Linked DNA regions of Homo sapiens: region 1 is linked to region 2. Evidence: promoter capture Hi-C in human tissues and cell types (Jung and others, 2019). All regions are on one chromosome and are shown on one strand. The core of a region is centred on a gene start or on the middle of the fragment in contact, and the rest is flanking DNA. Distances in the headings are between cores, read along the strand shown.

Evidence for each region. Contacts are between HindIII fragments. The study calls those that stand out against the background at their distance.
Region 1: a fragment that was not itself captured here is called in contact with the fragment with the promoter of ITFG2 in region 2 in 1 of the 25 tissues and cell types used here (spleen).

The regions. Positions count from the first base shown.
Region 1 is chr12:1,650,214-1,655,596 of GRCh38, forward strand. No RefSeq gene overlaps it. Among named protein-coding and RNA genes, the nearest start is that of MIR3649, 7.5 kb to the right of the region's middle. The HindIII fragment of the contact is 3,937 bases long and covers 1,821-5,383 here.
Region 2 is chr12:2,807,885-2,813,917 of GRCh38, forward strand. It overlaps ITFG2 (integrin alpha FG-GAP repeat containing 2), which reads left to right and starts at 4,784. Exons shown (of 12, transcript NM_018463.4): 1 at 4,784-4,972. The coding sequence starts at 4,877. It overlaps ITFG2-AS1 (ITFG2 antisense RNA 1), which reads right to left and starts at 5,040. Exons shown (of 4, transcript NR_146317.1): 1 at 4,678-5,040. RefSeq lists enhancers at 4,331-5,080, 4,811-5,060 and a silencer at 4,611-4,700. The HindIII fragment of the contact is 16,489 bases long and covers 94-6,033 here.

The DNA.
Region 1 (5,383 bases), core at 2,539-5,038, 1.2 Mb before region 2:
GCATGGAGTATGTAAAAAATTAAAAACAACTCAACACTTCTGGCTGAGACGTTGCAGAGCCTGGGTTGTCTATCTTTATTGGAAATGTTTGTCCTCTGCCTGGCTGGTGATGACAGGCTTCATATCTCTAGAAGGAATGTTGGGGAGCTGAGAAGGGCTGTGAGCCATGGTTGCTAAGTGTTACTGTTAGTTCTTTATTATGTAAGAATCTCTGCATTGTGTTTATACTAAAACAGTAAGTAAAGGGTGGGTGCTTTAATTCTGGTTTTACATAAGAAGTATGGGAGCTTGCCCATTTTTCTCTGAAGTAAGAAGATTTGGGCCCAGCAGTGAGGATCAGACGTCAGGCAGTGTGGAAGACTGAAGCCATCCACAGTTAATTTTCTAGCTTGTTGCAGAGTTTGGGCATTCCTCACGTAGATTCTCCAGTCCTTGCTTCCTCCCTCTTGCTGCAGGCCTTTTGGTCTTCATGCTGCTCATTTGCAGCCCTACCAGAAGCAGCAGTAGAAGACAGAGCTGAATCAGTTAATTTAGGCCTTCTAAGTCGTTGTGATAAACAACTGGGTGGGAGGAGGGATGGTTCCAATGAGATTTTAAGAATTACAGATGTATGTGTATTATCTGCTGCTCCACAGGAGAACTGAAAATAGACTGAAAGCTGCTCACAGCCAAAGCCAGAAGGAAACTGCAGTATTGACAGAGAGAGAGAAAGAGAGAGAAAGAAACAGACTCAAATCACTCGGGGCAAGAGAGGGTTTGCTGGTGTGGAAACCGGGTGGTGGGGAGGCTTTCAGCAGAATATCAGGAGGGGACTTCAGCAGGGACCCAAGGAAAGACGTGAAAGAACAGACACTATAGAAAAGGTGAACCCTTTTGATCCAATCTCACTGTAAAGCCAAAAGGAGTGAGTACTGTTTGAAGTGACCCTGGCCTCATTCCATATTGGTGCTCTGCCTGTTGGGTCAGCCAGCTCTTCGGCTGGTCCCTGATTTGGAAGTTACGTCTTTCGTATATTTATTTCCAGAGACTTCTTAGCAGCAGTTACGTTTCATAAGGGAAGTTTTGATACCTCTTTTGTTCCCTGCTATGTCTGCCATCACCCACAACAGTGCCTAGCACAAAGAAAGCACTCAATAGATATTTGCTGAGTGAATGAATGAATGATGTTTCTTCATGAACAGACAAGGAAACTGAGGCATAATGTGATTAACTGCGTGGTCCATCATATCATTTGTTCTATCAAAATTGCAAGTAATAGAAACCAATTTGAGTCAGATTATGAAGAAGGAGTATGACATGAGGGTCCCAAGAGTCTCAAAGACGCCAGGGTCTTCAGGAGCTGACCTGGACACCTCTGGATCCCTCTCCCTTCCTCCTCTCTCCTCTGAGGTCTCTCTCTCTCTCTCTCTCTCTCTCTCTCTCTCTCTCACAGTTCCAGCCCCAGGAAGGGACTCTGAATCTCTCCTGGTCCTTGTCCCAGATTCCCAGGAGGGGCTTCTGGTCAGGGCTCTGTCCACCATTGCATGACTTTGCAGCAGTTCAAGTCAATGAGTGGAGGGGCTGAAGAACTCATCAAGGTGAGAGGAACTGCTCACGTTCTCATAAATTTCTCGGCGGATGGTTAGATCCAGAGAACACATAATCCAGTTGGTGTGAATGAGACCCCTAAGTATTTACTCTGGAAATTCTCATGATAGCTTTACTGAGGAGTCTTTTATCTGTGAAAATGCATAATTATGGAACAAGTCCTGAGGATTGTCTAAAATAAGGAAAAACCTGAGCCCACTAGTGTGAAGAGGAAGGCTTCTGTTCTCTGAATAACCCAGGATAGGACACACACCCATTCATCTACCTTGCAGGGTTCAGGCAGCCAAGTTGCTAAGAAGCAGAGAATAGACTAGAGTCAGTGACAGCCCCTGGCTGGTATTCTGCCCTGCAGGTGCATTCATTTTTCAATACTGAGCTGTATTTGAAGGCCAGTCATCCCTGTGGATGATTTAAAGGTATCTTCCCTCTGACAGGACCACTCTACAGTATCAATTGCTTCCTTCATACATTTTCCTCATTCTTCAAGGTCTGAGCATGCCAAAAAGTAAGACCTGAGAGGGGTAAGGGTTGCCAGGATGTTTCTGCAAATCTTCCACGGCTCTTGGGGGCACCCAGCAGGCATTTGAAAACTGACTTACAGCCGGGTGTGGTGGCTCACGCCTGTAACCCCAGCACTTTGGGAGGCCAAGGCAGGCGGATCACCTGAGGTCAGGAGTTCGAGACCAGCCTGGCCAACATGGTGAAACCCCGTCTCTACTAAAAAATACAAAAATTAGCCGGGCGTGGTGGTGGGTGCCTGTAATCCCAGCTACTTGGGAGGTTGAGGCAAGGAGAATCGCTTGAACCCGGGAGGCGGAGGTGGCAGTGAGCTGAGATGGCACCATTGCACCTCCAGCAGCCTGGGCAAATACAGCGAAACTCTGTCTCAAAAAGAAGAAAGAAAGAAAGAAAGAAAACTGACTTACGCCCTGTGGCTGGCCTTCTTTTGTCCTTTTTGTTTTGACAGCAAAAGCCATATAGACCTTGAATGCTATGACAGGCAGGACACGTCTGTGAAATAGGAAATAATTACACTCACGCTTTTTAGGTGCTATGTTTCCTTCCTCATTTTATTTTCTAACATGCAAGTAAACTTTTTAATGGACCTAACGTCTCATCTGACAGATATCACGGCCTTAGGTCGGAGCAAATGATCAGCCTGGAACCCACTCCAGACTGGTCTGCAGTTCTGCATGTGACCACACAGTGTCGCTATCTTCTCAGTTCTAGCCGAATAGCTCTGGCCCGCACCTTGGTTCAAAAAAACATTTTTTTTTTTTTTTTTTTGGCTGGGCGCGGTGGCTCACACCTGTAATCCCAGCACTTTGGGAGGCCGAAGCGGGGGGGGGGGGGGATCACTTGAGGTCAGGAGTTCGAGACCAGCCTGGCCAACAAGGTGAAACCCTATCTCTATTAAAAATACAAAAAAATTAGGCAGGTGTGGTAGCCTGCACCCCCGTAATCCCAGCTACTGAGTAGGCTGAGGCAGGAGAATCGCTTGAACTGGGAGGGAGAGGTTGTGGTAAGTGGAGACCATGCCACTGCACTCCAGCCTGGGCGACAGAGCAAGGCTCTGTCTCAAAAAAAAATTGTAAATTTAAAAAAAAGTTGGGTGGTGTGTCCTTGCGGATTGATGGCAGAAAACAGAATCTGGAGAGCAGCAAAGCTGAGTTCTAGATTTTTCATTTGGATAAATGTGGGAAGAATTAGGTCAGTCTTATTTTACTTAGTTTTAAAAGAATGAGTGAGGAGGGCAATGCAGTTAGGAAAGAAAACATGAAAGGAATGCCTTGTCCTGCTCGGCTGGACCCTCAAGACACCCACAGTACTTTTCATGCTTGAAGATTATGATGAAGGAGGTGAGTAATAATTATAGCTACCATTTATTGAGTACTACTGTGTACCAGCTGCTTTACATACATTACATGTAATCCTCTCAGGGCCTCTGCAGTGTAGCCAATATTATCCACGTGTTTCAGATGGGAAAGCTAACACTCAGAGTGGTGAAGCGGCATCCCTCACCTCACACAGCTAGTAATTCATGCTGACTCCAGACCTCTTTCAGGTGGATTTCTGGGTAAGGAATCTGGTCAGCTGAAATAACAGGTGCCCATTTCCTTCTAAGTCTCAGGGAGTGTACAATAATCTTCCTCGTCTTGCCACCATGAATGTTGAATGAGAAGAGTGACTAGAGAGATTTCATTTGGTAGGGGCATATGGCAGGGGGAACTTGGGGATCCCAAATCTAAAGTAAACAGGCAAGGTGCGGTGGCTCATGCCTGCAATCCCAAGATTTTGGGGGTGCTGAGGCAGGGGGATCACTTGAGACCAGGAGTTTGAACCAGCCTGAGCAACACAGTGAGACCCTGTTTCCACAAAAAAAAAAAAAAAAAAAAAAAAAAGGCTGAATGCAGTGGCTTATGCCTGTAATCCCAGCCCTTTGGGAGGCTGAAGTAGACGGATTGCATGAGTCTAGGAGTTCGAGACCAGCCTGGGCAACATAGTGAGACCCTGTCTCTATTAAAAAAACACAAAAAATTAGCTGGGCATGGTGGTGCCTGCCTGTAGTCCCAGCTACTCAGGAGGCAAAAGTGGGAGGATCACCTGAGCACAAGAGTTCGAGGCTGCAGTGAGCCATGATCACGCCACTGCATTCCTTCCAGCCTGGGTAACAGTGAGACCCTGTATAAAAAAAAAACCAGGCATGGTGGCACATACCTGTAGTCCCAGCTACTGGCCGGGGGTGAGGTGGGAGGATTGCTTGAGCCTAGGAGTTCAAGGCTATAGTGAACCATCATCGTGCCACTGCACTCCAGCCTGGGGTTACAGTGAGACCCTGTCTCAAAAAAAAAAAAAAAAAAAAAAGGAAACAGATAATGCATACAGGGCTAAACAGCATAGAAAATGCTACAAAAGTTGAAGATAGTATATTGATGTACATATTGAAGCAAAGAGAAAACTGGGGCCTTGGACGATGGAACTAGATGAGTAAGTCACATTCGGTAGGGAATTTAGAGCTGGTGCCTGGGGGCTTCATTTTACAAGACAGCCATGGGTATTCTCTACCACATGCTTCCCTCGAATTTACTCAGAGGGAAGCCCTCTCTCCACTGGCTTTCCCAGGCGTTAGGAGTCAATGGTTTTGAATAAGAGTGAAGATTAAAATTCAGCAGAGCTCCAAGCATGTCTGATCTTGAGCGGACAGGACCATGGACTAAGCTTCTGAACTCCCTTTTCCAATCTGCTCTTCCGGCCTCTTGATCTCTGTGCCAGGACTCAACTCCATCACAAATGCATAATTCCTATCACAAGGAGACAACCGTAAATATATTTGAATTAAGTGACATGTTTTCAGCTTCTCAAAGGCCCCATCCCTAAACTCAGTGTGGCCCTGGCCCTGTGACATGCTGGCGATGCAGTCCCACCAGGCACAGCACTGAAACTGCATGTCGTGCTGGAACAGGGGACTCTACCAGAGGCTCTGCTGGGACAGAAGGTAGGAAGCAGAAGCAGGTATTGGGATTCCATAGGAGAATGCAGTGCTCGCTTCCTGGTGTACCCACCGAGGAGGCAAGGGAAGGAGCAGTGACTCCTGTCTTTCTGTGACTCAGCTCCCGCCTGGGGCTTCTGGGTTCAGAGCAGGGGAGTGGAGGGATGTGGGTCTTAGATGAGAGAGGTGGAATGAGCAGCTCTTGGGACTCCTCATGGCCCCACAGTCTCTACCTGCTCAGAGAAAAATGAGCCCAGGTGATGGGAGGAGGTGTTCATATGTTATGGGAGAGGGAGGGTGACTGGG
Region 2 (6,033 bases), core at 3,534-6,033:
TGGACCCTGCCCCCAAGGTGGTGAGGCTCTGGGCCTCATGTTTTGAAAGATACTTGGAGACCCTGTTTCTTACCTGGGCACCCTGGGCAAACACAAACCATTCTGTCTACTGTTGGAGGATGAAGTACACAAAGAATCTTCCTAGAAATGCTTCCCACTGGCTGGGCGCAGTGGCTCACGCCTGTAATCCCATCACTTTGGGAAGCCAAGGCAGGCGGATCACGAGGTCAGGAGATCAAGACCATCCTGGCTAACACGGTGAAACCCCGTCTCTACTAAAAATACACACACAAAAAAAAAATTAGCTGGGTGTGGTGGCGGGAGCCTGTAGTCCCAGTTACTGGGGAGGCTGAGGCAGGAGAATGGTGTGAACCTGGGAGGTGGAGCTTGCAGTGAGTCAAGAGCGCGCCACTGCACTTCAGCCTGAGCGACAGAGTAAGACTCCATCTTAAAAAAAAAAAAAAAGAAAGAAACGCTCCCCACTTAATCCCCCCATCCCCTCCTATGGAGATTTCTATTGTTTGTAAAGAATATGCCACTCATATAACTGTATCCATGTCACCTAACCAGGAAGATACCCTAATTAGACAGTTTTGGGGAGCAAGACAAAAACCAGCAGAAAGAGTGCTTGGCTTAGACAAGATGGAGTTTAGATGGTGCCCAAAGAGACCTAGCAACCTTCCAACTAGAAAGGGGCCAAGACCAGGAGTGCTCTTTGTGGAGCCAGGGATCTGTCCATATGGCTTGACAATGCCTAGTCATACAAAACACTCACTGGACTTAAAGTAACTGATGCAAGGTGGGGAGAGGCACAGGCATGGAAGGACTTCACTTGTGCCCTATTTCTTGGAGACCTATCTTTCCTGCCTAACTTTATTTGGCTCTCTTGACAAAAGCCAAAAAGTGTGGTATAGAAGTTGTGATCATACGTCTAGGCATGGTGGCCTGTAATCCCAGCACTTTGGGAGGCCGAGCACTTTGATCACCTGAGGTCAAGAGTTCAAGACCAGCCTGGCCAACATGGTGAAACCCTGTCTCTACTACAAAAAAAATTATCTGGGCATGGTCGTGGACACCTGTAATCCCAGCTACTCGGGAGGCTGAGGCAGGAGAATCGCTTGAACCCGGGAGGCGGAGGTTGCGGTGAGCCAAGATCGCACCATTGCACTCCAGCCTGGGCAAGAAGAGTGAAACTCAAAAAAGTGAAAAAGAAGGCCAGACACAGTGGCTCACGCCTGTAATCCCAGCACTTTGGGAGGCTGAGGTGGGTGGATCATGAGGTCAGGAGATTGAGACCATCCTGGCTAACACAGTGAAACCCATTCTCTACTAAAAATACAAAAAATTAGCCGGGTGTGGTGGCGGGTGCCTGTAGTCTCAGCTTCTCGGGAGGCTGAGGCAGGACAATGGCGTGAACCCGGAGGGCAGAGCTTGCAGTGAGCTGAGATCGTGCCACTGCACTCAGCCTAGGCGACAGAGCGAGACTCCATCTCAAAAAAAAAAAAAAGTAAAAAAGAAGTTGTGATCATAATTACATGACCTTCATGGCAAACATATTCTACAATTAAAAACAGACACCCCGTGTCACAGAAAGATCCAGACCAAGAAACCCAAATGATGAGGAAGATAAAACTAAGGCACTGGGGAATCCTGGGTTGGGGTCTGATCTTAGATAACTGGGTCAGGCCAAGGCACCTGATGAAAGAAGCTGGGTGATCTCATCTCTTGTTCTGAGTTATTTAGTAATATATTTTTTTAAAACCACTTCAGAGGCCGGGCGTGGTGGCTCATGCCTATAATCTCAGCACTTTGGGAGGCCGAGGCAGGCAGATCACAAGGTCAGGAGTTCAAGACCAGCCTGGCCAATATGGTGAAACCCCGTCTCTACTAAAAATACAAAAACAATTGGCTGGGCGTGGTGGCAGTCTCCTGTAGTCCCAGCTACTCAGGAGGCTAAGGCAGGAGAATCGCTTGAACCCGGGAGGCGGAGGTTGCAGTGAGCCGAGATCGTGTCATTGCACTCCAGCCTGGGTGACAGAGGGAGACTGCCTCAGAAAAAAAGAAAGAAAGAAAGAAAAAACCATTTCAGAGGTAAAGTTTTTTTTTTTTTTTTTTTTTTGGAGACAGAGTCTCACTTTCACCCAGCCTGGAGTGCAGTGACACCACCTTGGCTCACTGCAACCTCTGCCTCTTGGGCTCAGGAGATCTTCCCGCCTCAGCCTCCTGAGTAGCTGGGACCACAGGCATGCACCACTATGCCCAGCTAATTTTTGCATTTTTGGTGGAGTCATGGTTTTGCCATGTTGTCCAGGCTGGTCTTGAACTCCTGAGCTCAAGTGATCTGCCTGCCTCAGTCTCCAAAAGTGCTGGAATTACAGGCATGAGCCTCCACAGCCAACCTAGAGGTGAACATTTTGATACTGGTTTTGGTTTTCCCACCCCTTAAAGGCCTAATATGAAGCTTAGGATTTGAACTAGGATGAGAGAATAGAGATGGGGTAGAACACGGGGTGAGGGAGCATGCAACTGCTCTGTAAATGAGAAAATGTATTCAAAGCACCAGGAATACCTGTGGGACCCAGTGCCTTTTAATGGACCTGGCCATCCCACAGTACACAACCAGAAATATGAACTTGTAACACAGTTCAGCTTCAGAATATATCTGCAGTCTCCAGTATTTGTCCAGACTTCCTCCAGTTTACTGTTCTGACCTGCTGTTCTTTCTTACCTGGCTGTCAGATCCACTGGGACATCTAGGAAAAAATCTGCCACCCCCTTCCCCCAAGAAAAGGTCTTGCCCTCCAGCCTCCTCCCACTATGTACAGACATAGAAAGTAGGGACAAGCCGGGCATGGTGGCTCACGCTTGTAATCCCACCTACCTGGGAGGCTGAGACACAAGATCTCGAGCCTGGGAGGCGGAGGTTGCAATGAGCCCAGATCGCACCACTGCACTCCAGAGCAAGACTCTCAAAGAAAAAAAAGAAAGAAAAAGAAAAAAGGGGCCGGGCGCAGTGGCTCACGCCTGTAATTCCAGCACTTTGGGAGGCCGAGGCGGGCAGATCAAGAGGTCAAGAGATCAAGACCATTCTGGCCAACATGGTGAAACCCCGTCTCTACTAAAAGTACAAAAATTAGCTGGGCGGCCGGGCGCCGGTGGCTCATGCCTGTAATCCCAGCACTTTGGAAGGCCGAGGCGGGTGGATCACGAGGTCAGGAGATCGAGACCATCCTGGCTAACACGGTGAAACGCCGTCTCTACTAAAAATACAAAAAATTCTCCTTGAGTGGTAGCGGGCGCTTGTAGTCCCAGCTACTCCGGAGGCTGAGGCAGGAGAATGGCTTGAGCCCGGGAGGCGGAGCTTGCAGCGAGCCGAGATCGCACCACTGCACTCCAGCCTGGGTGACAGAGCGAGACTCCGTCTCAAAAAAAAAAAAAATTAAATTAAATTAAATTAAAAATTAGCTGGGCGTGGTGGCGCTCGCCTGTAGTCTCAGCTACTCGGGAGGCTGAGGCAGGAGAACTGCTTGAACCTGGGAGGCAGAGGTTGCAGTGAGCCGAGATTGCGCCACTGCACTACAGCCTGGGCAACAGAGCGAGACTCTGTCTCAAAAAAAAATAAAAATAAAAATAAAAAAAAAAAAGATAAAAAGGAACAGCCCCTGGTCCAAAATCCCAGATAAGGTAGAATCATTTTTTTTTTTTTTTTGAAACACCAAGTGCGAGTCAGCCTGGGTTTTTAGACCTAAATCTAAAAATGTATTGAACACCTGTATGATTTCATAAATATTGCCCTGATTGACGAGGCACCCCAAAGAAAGGCAGAACTGGATTCAACATGGAAAGAAAGTATCCCAAGAAGCCAGCCATGAGAGTGACAGTCCCATCTGTGCTACAAGAGTAAGGCTACTGAGGTTGAGATGCAAGAGCTTTGTGCTGGGGGGCCACAAGACAGAGCAGATCCGGAATCCAGGCAACCTTCACTTCCAGCCTGAAGACTCTCCTACGAACTATGATAGTAAATGATGGAGAGGCCCTAGGGTTTGGGATCAAACAATTCTGGTTTGAGCACGCACCCCGCCCCACAATCCTTCCTTCTGCCATTTTACTTAATCTTGCTGAACCTGTTTTCCTCAGCCAAAAAAAAAAAAAGCTCGCATAGTGGCTGAACTAATTATGTGAAATATGTGAAATGTGCTTTGCAGCAGGTGGCTTTTAAACTATTGACCAGAAAACACATACACTGAAAAAAAAAATTTTTTTTACATTATAAGCCAGTATACACATATAAGTATATACAATTGAAACAAGAGTTTCACAAAAACTGTACTTACCTTACTACCTGGGAGTCACTTGGTATATTACTATTGTATTTAATTTTTTATATGCTGATTGCAACTCACTACATTGTTTTCACTCCTAATGGGTAGTTTTTTAAAAACACTTTTCAAAACCATGCAATTATCAGTTATTACGAAGATTAGTAAGATTCTCAGGAATGGTCTGATGGCTAGGAATCTTCATTGCCAGGGAAACAAAGGAAAAAGGTCAAGGTTATTAGGTCAAGCCCTTGGGAGCCCTGTTGCCAAGGGAACAGATCGACCCCCGTCAGGGTTGGTTTACCCACGGTCTGCAGCCCTGTGGAGAAAAGGAGTGGCCCGTGGGCCTGTCACTCACATCAGAGTTGGGAAGCCCGCCTCCAAGCCCGGAAGACCCGCCTCCTCTGTAAGGTTAAAGGAGGAAGAGGCAGAGATTGGAGGTTCAGGCAGTGACGTAACTTGCTGCCTTAGGTGGCCTTCCGCTCTGGCGGCTGTCGCGACGGGGGTTCAGGGAATATTTACTGGGCCTCTCCGCTCCCTCTGCTCTTGGAGGTGCCATGAGGTCAGTTAGCTACGTGCAGCGCGTGGCGCTGGAGTTCAGCGGGAGCCTCTTCCCGCACGCAATCTGCCTCGGAGACGTTGATAACGATACGGTAGGTGCATGCGCACCGCAAGAGACAGCCTGGATCTGTGCAGGGACGGGGCAAGGGAAGTGGAAGAGGCCGCCCGAGCGTGCCACGTGAGCGTGAGCATGCGCGCTGTGGCTAGTTTGGAGCGCTAGAGAGAAAAACTTTATTGATAGCTTCAGTGTTCGTGGTTGGTTTTGTTCCTTGGGAGGTTTTGTTTGTTTTTTGAGACAGGCTCCGTCTGTCACCCAGGCTGGAGTGCAGTGGCTTGATTTCGGCTCACCGCAACCTCTGCCTCCCGGGCTCGAGCGATTCTCCTACCTCAGCCTCCCAAGGGGCTGGGATTACAGGCGCCCGCCACCACGCCCGACTAATTTTTGTGTTTTTAGTAGAGGTGGGGTTTCACCATGTTGGCCCAAAGTGCTGGGACTACAGGCCTGAGCCATCGTGCCCAGCCCTTCTCGTTTTTTAAATAAATTACCACAGGTCAAGCAGGTAAAACAATGCCTGGCACACAGTTTAGTGCTCACTTAAGTGTTAGTGGTGGTGGTGGTGGTGTTAGTATTTTATTCTGTTTTTCTGCAAATCTTTACTGAACTGCTCATTATGCACCAAGGACTCTGCTACATTCTAGGAATTCAAAAATGAACGAGAGAGTTCCAGTCCTCAGATAGCTCATAATCAAGCTGTGTAATAGTCACCGGATAATAAAATGTAATGAGATGCATTGACTAAAGTATGGAGAGGATTCTCCGGTGGAGCATTAAAGGGAATAGTGTCTGATGCTCTTTTTTTTGCAGACTTTATCTTTTCATTTATCATCTATTTCATAGTTCTAATGCAAAGCACTGTATTGCCCCCTTCTACCCTCTGCCCTATCTTCCTACTCGGCCTCCCTGCTTCACAGTTCCTTAACTGTCCTGTACTTATTTCCCACCGCCCCCTAGTGCTGTGATGCAGAAGGTATCTTATGAGGCCTTTTTTGGCTCTACCCTCTCTGGGGAGGAAAGAGTTATTCTCATAAATTTGTGTTATGTTTTCTGGGCTTTCGTGTTTCTTCATGAACTGCCAAGCAGTCCAATTTTATG